Regions from separate parts of the Homo sapiens genome. Here region 2 is linked to region 1. Evidence: promoter capture Hi-C in 16 types of primary human blood cells and fetal thymus (Javierre and others, 2016). All regions are on one chromosome and are shown on one strand. Each heading gives the region's core, a stretch centred on a gene start or on the middle of the fragment in contact. The rest is flanking DNA. Distances are from core to core; before and after follow the strand shown.

Region 1 (4,064 bases), core at 1,116-3,615:
GGAACAGAATAGCCTAAAGAAACAGACAACCATGAAATGTACAGAAATGATACCAATATATAAAATACCTCACCTCGCCGGGTGCAGTGGTTCACGCCTGTAATCCCAGCACTTTGGGAGGCCGAGGCGAACAGATCACCTGAGGTCGGGAATTCAAGACTAGCCTGACCAACATGGGGAAACCCCGTCTCGACTGAAAATACAAAATTAGCCGGGCGTGGTGGCACATGCCTGTAATCTGAGCTACTCGGGAGGCTGAGGCATGAGAATCGCTTGAATCCGGGAGGCGGAGGTTGTGGTGACCCGAGATCACATCATTGTCCTCCAGCCTGGGTAACAGGAGTGAAACTCTGTCTAAAAAAGAAAGAAAGAAAGAAAAAAGAATAAAATCAAACGCCTCACCTAACAATGTAAACAATCATTCCTTGAGTAACCATCTCAATTCACTGCATTCAAAAATCAAAAAGAGAAGAGCTATTACGATTCATATAGCCCAAAGCTTCACACTTCATGTTCTAAATACTCTAAAAGTATCAGGGAGAACACTGAAAACACTCAGCCGAACATGTTAAGTAGTCTCTTGTTATTTCAGAATGCATCTCAAGTTCTTTGCAACTTGAAGAATAAAAGTAAGAAAAGGAAACCAAGCGTGGTATTAAAATCAACGTTGCAAGCTGGCCTGGATTCAGGCTGTTAGGTGAGAGGAGGAGGCACACGGATCAGGAAGGGTCTGACTCCTACTTAGGGCCGAACGATAACCAAATGTCTATCGGACTTCCTTTCAGCACAATGGTGATGCCTACTCAAGACCAAAAATGCTAACCATCCTTCATTTTAGCAATCATTTTTATGTGCCTTTTGTGTGCATAACAGCCTTGAAAAAACTTAGCTTTCTACTCAAGGATGTCATAAACATTTGCTCACTAGTCTTCTTAGCAGGAAGATTCTGAATCACAAGCAACCTATCACAGTCCCCCCTCCCTCTGAAATACAAACGACATATGTAACACGTGTCACTGCAGAAAAATCAGAAAAATGTTTAAAAATTTTTTATATCACCTAGAAACCAACATCTTTCCACCTGTCATTTTTTTCAACCAACAAGAAAGTCTATGCACAAAATAGAATACATACAACAGGCAGTCAGCAATCATCAAATAGATAAACGTTTCAAAAGGCCTTTCATGCAATGTATATTCTTCCTAATTGCTGTAAGACGTCTTTACAGTAAATAACTCCATTTTTAACGAGTTTAAAAAGAGTTAAGCTTTCTTTTTCGTTCTCATTAAAATAAGCATATGCTTTAAATTGTAAAAGAATTGAAACAAAAACATGTTGCAGGAGAGCCTGAACTAGAATCCACTACATGTCCAACGTGGAGGCAGTCTTTACTGCAATATCACACGGTCACTAAATACTTGATTCGCTATTTTTCAGTCCGGCATAAATCTTTCTCTTCGAAAAAAACAAAAAAGGCATAAACTGCTTCAAATGATTCGTTTCCCTAGACAGTACTTAAAGACAAAACCAAAAAAGGGGGTTTCTAAGCACCGTCACACGAGTGAGGCGACTCTCAGGCTGGAGGCTTTGGGCGCCAGCATCGACGCCTGCTCTCCGCGGCTACAACTCGTTGCGCGAGCCCGGGGATTCGCCGCCGGAGGTCACGAAGCCGCCGGGCAGGGCCGCAGCGCCAGCGAGGACCCAGGATCGTCCCGAGCCCGGACGCAGCCAGACAAATGCCCGTCGGAGGCGCAGGGCAGAAGTCCCTGGGACTTAGCCGCCTCCACCCCGGCGCCACGCACCAGCTTCGCCCGGGCCCAGAAGCCGGCGCCAAGGAGACTTCCAAGCCCCGACACCAAAGGTTCCGTAAAGACAACGGCAGCAGGGGGCCGAGGGGAGCCCGGCCAAGGCGTCCTGCGCAGGGGGTGGAACTGCCTTCGGGATGGGGGAGGGGAACGCCATCCCGCCATATAACGAAGGCAGAGTTTCCGTATAAAGGGAGCTCCGGTCTCTCCCGCCCTCTCCCGTTAGAAGATGCGCCCGCACGCCCGCGTCCCCTGGAGCAGTCCAGCGCCCGACCCACCCGCTCCTCCCTCACACTCACCAGTCAGTCCCCCGAGGCCCTCCCGGCCGGCCCACGCAGAGGCGGCGGCGGCCGAGAGCGCAGGCGGAGGGGCCGCGCGGTCCTTCCCGCGGACGCACGGCGGCGGGCAGCGCTGCTCCGGCCCTAGCGCTCCCGGACGCTGTGCTGGGCCGACCCCTCTCCCTCCCCGCGCGCCCCACGCCCTGAGCGCCAGGCCCCTGGCCTAGGCTCCGCGGCCGCACTGCCCTGGCCGCCACGCTCCGCGCCTGCGCCGCGCACCTCAGGGGCCCGCCGAGAGGGCGGGGAGGTGACGAGGTGAGGTGGGGGCAGGGAGCGGGCTGCGCGAACGCACCGCACACGCGGCCTGGGAGGGACCACCGGCCCGCAGCCCCGGGGGAGGCCCAGCGGCCCGCGCCCCCTGCCGGAGGCCTTGCGCCGCCGCAGTCTCCTTCTGGGCGGGGAAGAGCCCCTCCCGAGCCCCGAGGGCGATCCCACCCTCTAGGATTACTCCACGCCAGGCGGCCAGCGAATTTATCCCGCCCGCCTCCACCGCCCCTTCAAGCCCTGGGGAACTGGGAGAAACGTGGCGCGCAGCGGCACCTTTCCCACGCTGCTCCTCAAGGGAAAGGACGCGAGTGGTCTTGCCCAGGTTAGGCAAGGCAGATGGCATCTCAGACCCCGAAGTGTGCCAGCCGCCTGTTGGGGACAGAGAGGCCGAGGACCTCGTCACGGTTTTACTGAGGCCACACCAGAGAACCACCTAGGGCTAGGATGCTGCCCTCAGGGCAAGAGGGTGAAACCTGAAGACTGCGAGTCGTTGTTGAGTTTCACCCGATTCCTTGGCTCGAGAAATAGTGGAATGAATGAGGAGTTAAGGGGGACTGGACTCGACGATTTAAGTCCTTTCTCGACTTTGACTTTCTTTGAGCAGCTGTAGAAATGATTAAATTACACGAGCATAAATAAATTTGTGAACATGGTTCCATAAATGATCTCTGTGCAAGTGTGGTGATATGTTTAATTCAGTCCTTTTGACAATGAGTTGAGGTTTTTAGTCACATTTTACAAAATGGAAAAGTAAATGTGTGAGAAGCTAAAGACTGGGTCTTAATTCATTTTGGTAGCCTAAACCCCTGAGGTTCAAACGGTTAAGAGGATGACTGAGAGCCATGTGGATTATCAGGTACCCAAGGTCACTCGGATAGTTAGGGCTGCAATGATGTCTCTTTGTTCACGTCCACTGCTTTTTCTGACAACCACATGCCAATCAACCAATCAATCGCTGGAAAGTAATAATCACAGACTTTACTCTGATCCCTTCACCATCCCCCAGGAGATAAAGCTATATTTGAAAGAGACACTACTTGTTTGTGAGGCTCAGTTTTTATGACCTCCTAAGTTTTATGTGCGTACTCAGCTCAAATAAATGCTCACGAATGCTAGTATGGCCCGAATTAAAGTTCGAAGAAATGTAGAGACATTTTTAAATCCTAGAATAGTTAGTATCTAGCACAGAACCGGGAATCGGTGGAAACCACAAGGGGGTGTCATGCCACCATCTTACCATTTTGCCTTACCACATAGCCTTGTGTCCAACAAAATCTTTATATTTCAAAATGAAGTTTTACTCCAAAACATTTTGTAGTGAAAGTAAACGCACACTCTCCCCAGCATCCCACGTATTGTTTGCACTTAGAGGAGCTTGACTTTGTTTAGATGTTGTTTAACATAGTCACAAATTGCAAGCAATTTCAAGTTCTTGATTAGCTGGAGTGTTTTTCAGTTTCATTTTTGGGTCCCTCTTTTCCTCATCTCCCGCTCCAAGGGAGGGTGATAGCTGGGATAAAACCCTAAAATCTCAAGAGTGCTAAATTGTAGAGTTTGTTAAATACTATTATAAATTTGATTCAGGGCTATTAAAACATCGTTCTTCCAACTTTTTCACACACTTGTAGAATAGCTTAATTTCTCCTTCCTTTCC
Region 2 (4,064 bases), core at 1,156-3,655, 4.9 Mb after region 1:
ACTGTTATCCCTGCTTCTATTCTTGCTTTCTTCAGTCTGTTCTCAATACAGTAGGCAGAGTAATGGTATCAAACAGATGTGTTAGATCATGTCATTCCTCTTGTCAAAAGGCTCCAATGGCCTCCAAATGGCTTCAAGTAAAGGTTATCATTACAATAGCTTAGCAGACCATGTAGTACTATCTGGCCCCTATGACATTTAAAATCCCATATCCTACTTCTCCTCTATCCTCCATTCCACTTCAGCTACACAAGCTTCTTTGCTGATCCCTGAACACAGCAATGTGCCCGGCCTCTGCACTTGCTATTTCTCTGCGCCCGGAAACTCTTGCCCCAAATATATGGCTTACTCCCTCAACTGCTTCAAGTCTACTGAAATGTCACCTTCTCCAGAGGACTTCCGGTAAAATCCTATTTTAAATTACTAAACACACACTCTTTTTCCTGCTTTATGTAATAAGTCCATAGCACTTATTACGGTTTCACCTTATATTTTTCTTATGTACTACATATACTGTCTCCCTCCACTAGAATGTATATTCCAAGAAGCCAGAAGTTTCTTCTTTGCTTTATTCCAGTGTCAAGAACACTGCTTGGCACGCAGTAAGCAATCAACAAACAATTGTTGACTAATAAGTATTGAGTGTTCTACCTAAATATAATAATGCTTTATGTAAGCAATTAATAAATTACATTTCATTCTTGTTAGTCGTCCTACATTAAAGGTCTTTAATACTCTTTTTATGTTATCAGGAATGCATTACGTCATCCTTATTAAGAGGAGTTACTTTTACATTTCCCATAAGTCTTGAGATCAGACATTACTGCCGATTGTAAAGGAGAAAAAAAATCTCTAAAAAATTAAAGGTGAAAGTATTGTTAAAATAATTCCCCTTTCCATTAAGAATTCTTGGGGTGTGGGAAAAAATGGTGAAAATCGTACTTAAAATACCAAGAATCCAGTTTTAAACCCAACTCTTCCTTTTAAGCTTTTCCTCCCCCATTCTCCCAGAGCACTTCGTAGGATTAAGCCAGTGCTCACCATGGTCCCTTCTCCTGAGGACAGGAACGGAATCTCTTCTCTGTTAACCTGTCACCAGTCAGCACAGAATCTAACTCACAGATGACAAAGAACCGTTACCAAATCGAACTCACTGGAGTGGATACTACAGGATCCTATGACATAATTTTTAATGTTTGTCAAGATGTATTCCTTCAACAGAAGCAACACCATTATCTTAAGGTTCTCGGGTGGTTAAAAAAAAAGTCTATCTTTTCTGTTCCGCAGGGATAACTGCAACACAACTTTCAGTCCAGCAACTTAATCCACAGTTAATTAATCCTTTACACTCCTCAGGATGCAAGCCCTAGTAAATAAAGACAGCTTAAGGACCATAGGTTGAAATGTAAAGGCTACTGTATGCTATTCAATTGCTATTCTAAAAGTGAGGGGGAAAAGAACACAAGGCACCAAGAGACGCAATACAAAGGAAAAATGAAAAAAAAAAAAAAGCAAAGAATGTGGGGGAAAATAGGGAGGACGAGCTATGAAGCAATGCAACTGTAGGGCAAATGTGGTAGTAAGCCAGACGTTAGGGTAGAACCAGCAGCGCAGGCTCTGATCCCAGGCTGCTCTTTCCATGGCTTCTCATAAACTTCCTTAAGAAAGCCATCCTGGGCGTCCACTGGAGCGGCATTCCACGCGCGGGGGCGGAACTGTGCTGCGCGCCATTTCGAACGCGCGGGCCCGCGGCGCCGCTCTTTACCTGCGCCCCGCTAGCGCGCCGTGTCGGGCTGCCTGGCCGGCGTGCACTGCATACGTGTGTGAACGTGTCAGAAGCGGGGACTCGGAGCTGCTACGCTCCTCTCCTAAGACAAGCGGCTTCGGGAGGTGGGCGGGGGCCTTGGAGCGGGTTGGGAGCTCCTTTGGCCAGCGCGCCTCGCGGACTGCCAGAGCCAGGTGCCCCGCGCGCCACCCCGCGGAGTCGCTCAGAACCCGCCGCCGGCCGGGCGCCCCTCGGCCCCCGTACTTCACGCCGGGTCGGCGCCCCGGGCCCCGCGCAGGGGTGCGGCCCACAGCTCAGTCGCGCCAGCTTGGGTAGGACGGAGGAGCAAGGAGACACGGACCGCTCGGCCGAGGCCGCGCCGCCTCAGAGCGCGGAGCTTGTTTTGGCAAAACTTTGAAAAGAAAAGGACTCCGATTACCTGAGCGGCGCGGGCGCGGGCTCGTCTGCGGTACGGCTGCCGGGCCAGGCCGGATTTTCAGCAGCCGTAAAGCGGGAGAAGCGGGCGCGAGCCGCGGCGCGAACCCTCGCCCCCGAGCGGCGGCCCCGGCGCCTCCGCCGCGAGCGTCAGCCGCTTGGCAAGGAACGGGCTGGGCTGAGTCATAATAAAAGACGCGTTTGTCGAGCCAAGTGGGAAGAAGAGCCGCGGGCAGCAGTGTTCAATGGCACAAGCCTCAAAAATTGGGAAGGATTTTTTTTTTAATGGGCAAAACTGGAAACTTGCCCCCATGGTGCCCATCAAAAGATATGTTTCGTTTATAATTTGCATATATTTTATACATAGTCTTTGAATCTAATAAAACTTTTAAAAGAATTTTTAAAGCCCATTGCTTGCAGAGCCAAATTCCTGGTTATAGCTTCGTGACTTACGCAAGTTACTTGAATTCTGTGCTTTTGTTTTTCATCCATGAAACAGGATAATAAAGGTACCTCCCTCAAGAGAGACTGCGAGAGAGCTTGGCATCCTGCCTGCACTTAGCACTCGCTAAATGTTAATTGTTATTTTAAAATAGGAGGGAGGAGATAATAAAGAGGAACTTAGATAACAGTTTTGAATGGAAGAAGATACGAATATAAATCAAGATTTTTCTTTTTTCAAGTGGAGTAAATTAGACAAATTACCAATGGAAGAGAAGAAAGTGGAGCCTGGAAGGAACAAACGGGGCTAAGAGAAGTAGCTGAAGCGAGGGAAGGAAGAAGGGGGAAGGAGGAAAGAAGAGAGGAAGAGGGGTGAATAAAAGCCTCCAAGGAACAAACGAGGCTGAAAGATGTGGCTGAAGGTAGGGAAGGAAGAAAAAGGGAGGAAGAGAGGAAGAAATAAAACCAAGGAAGCAAGAATAAAGCTAGGCTGCGTGGGAAGAGGGGAGGAAGGAAGGAGAGAGAAATTCAACTAGGCTCAGTGGCCAAAATGCTGAAGTGTGTCCTGCCGGGAGGGAGTGGAGGAATATGTTTACTCACTATTTAGAAATGCATGACAAACTCCATCCGCTGAGGGAGATTTTTACAATGTATAAACAGAGAAACAACTGTCTAAAAATGAGCCCCAAATGAGGAGCCTTTGCTCCAGTGAATGAGATTTGGCAGTTCTGCAAAATGAGGAAATTCTTCCTTGTGCGGCATCTTGAAGGGTTGAGTCATGAAACCCACAGCAAATATTAGTGGGCTGGATTCCTGAAAGGCATGCCAGATGGACGCATTCTGGTTAGTTTTACTGTGTGATGTTCCCTTCTGTACTTCTGTCAATTTTAGAAGAAAAGAGTGTGAATAAAGATTTGAGAAGTGAACTTAAAAGCCAAACTAGTTACTTAATGTACGAGTATCCACCCACCAGGAGCTTACAGTTACAGATTCCAAAACAAGCAACCGTTTCTCCCACTTTCATTTTCCCTCCCCTTTGTTTCTACTTTCACCGTATTGCTTTTTATCCATTTTTATAATATGATTTTTTACAGTGGAACCGCCTACGGGAAAGGTGCTTTTAATTAATACGAAAGAATGGAAGGAATTTCAGCTAGGCCTCTCTAAGAGGGTAAAGCTTTGTGAAAGAAAGGTTTTTTAGCTGAAGTTTTAATGAGAATAAGAGTAGTTGGCAGATGTGAAATCAGAAGTTTTTTCAGACAAGAAAATAATACGACTCGAGTGAAAGGGAATGGACTAGAAATCAGAAACAGTTCTATTCCTTAATTACCGTAAGAACCAAAGACTGGAGGAAAGTTTTTCCTATTCTATAAAGAAAAATGGGGGCCTCCCTCCACCAGCCAGACCTTCAAAAAAGGAAAAA

Evidence for each region. The method cuts DNA at HindIII sites, captures the fragments that hold promoters and counts their contacts. A CHiCAGO score of 5 or more calls a contact.
Region 2: a contact is called between a fragment that was not itself captured here and the fragment with the promoter of ZNF639 in region 1, in 1 of 17 cell types (fetal thymus). The highest score is 9.5, in fetal thymus.

What each region holds. Positions count from the first base shown.
Region 1 is chr3:179,321,332-179,325,395 of GRCh38, reverse strand. It overlaps ZNF639 (zinc finger protein 639), which reads right to left and starts at 2,365. Exons shown (of 6, transcript NM_001303426.2): 1 at 2,105-2,365. RefSeq lists enhancers at 265-364, 1,406-1,455 and silencers at 2,026-2,165, 2,196-2,635. The HindIII fragment of the contact is 4,241 bases long and covers 1,270-4,064 here.
Region 2 is chr3:174,439,173-174,443,236 of GRCh38, reverse strand. LOC105374226 (a long non-coding RNA gene) reads left to right here and starts at 2,588. Exons shown (of 4, transcript XR_924729.3): 1 at 2,588-4,064. It also overlaps a transcript of NAALADL2 not described here. RefSeq lists enhancers at 1,838-2,489, 3,118-4,064. The HindIII fragment of the contact is 2,830 bases long and covers 991-3,820 here.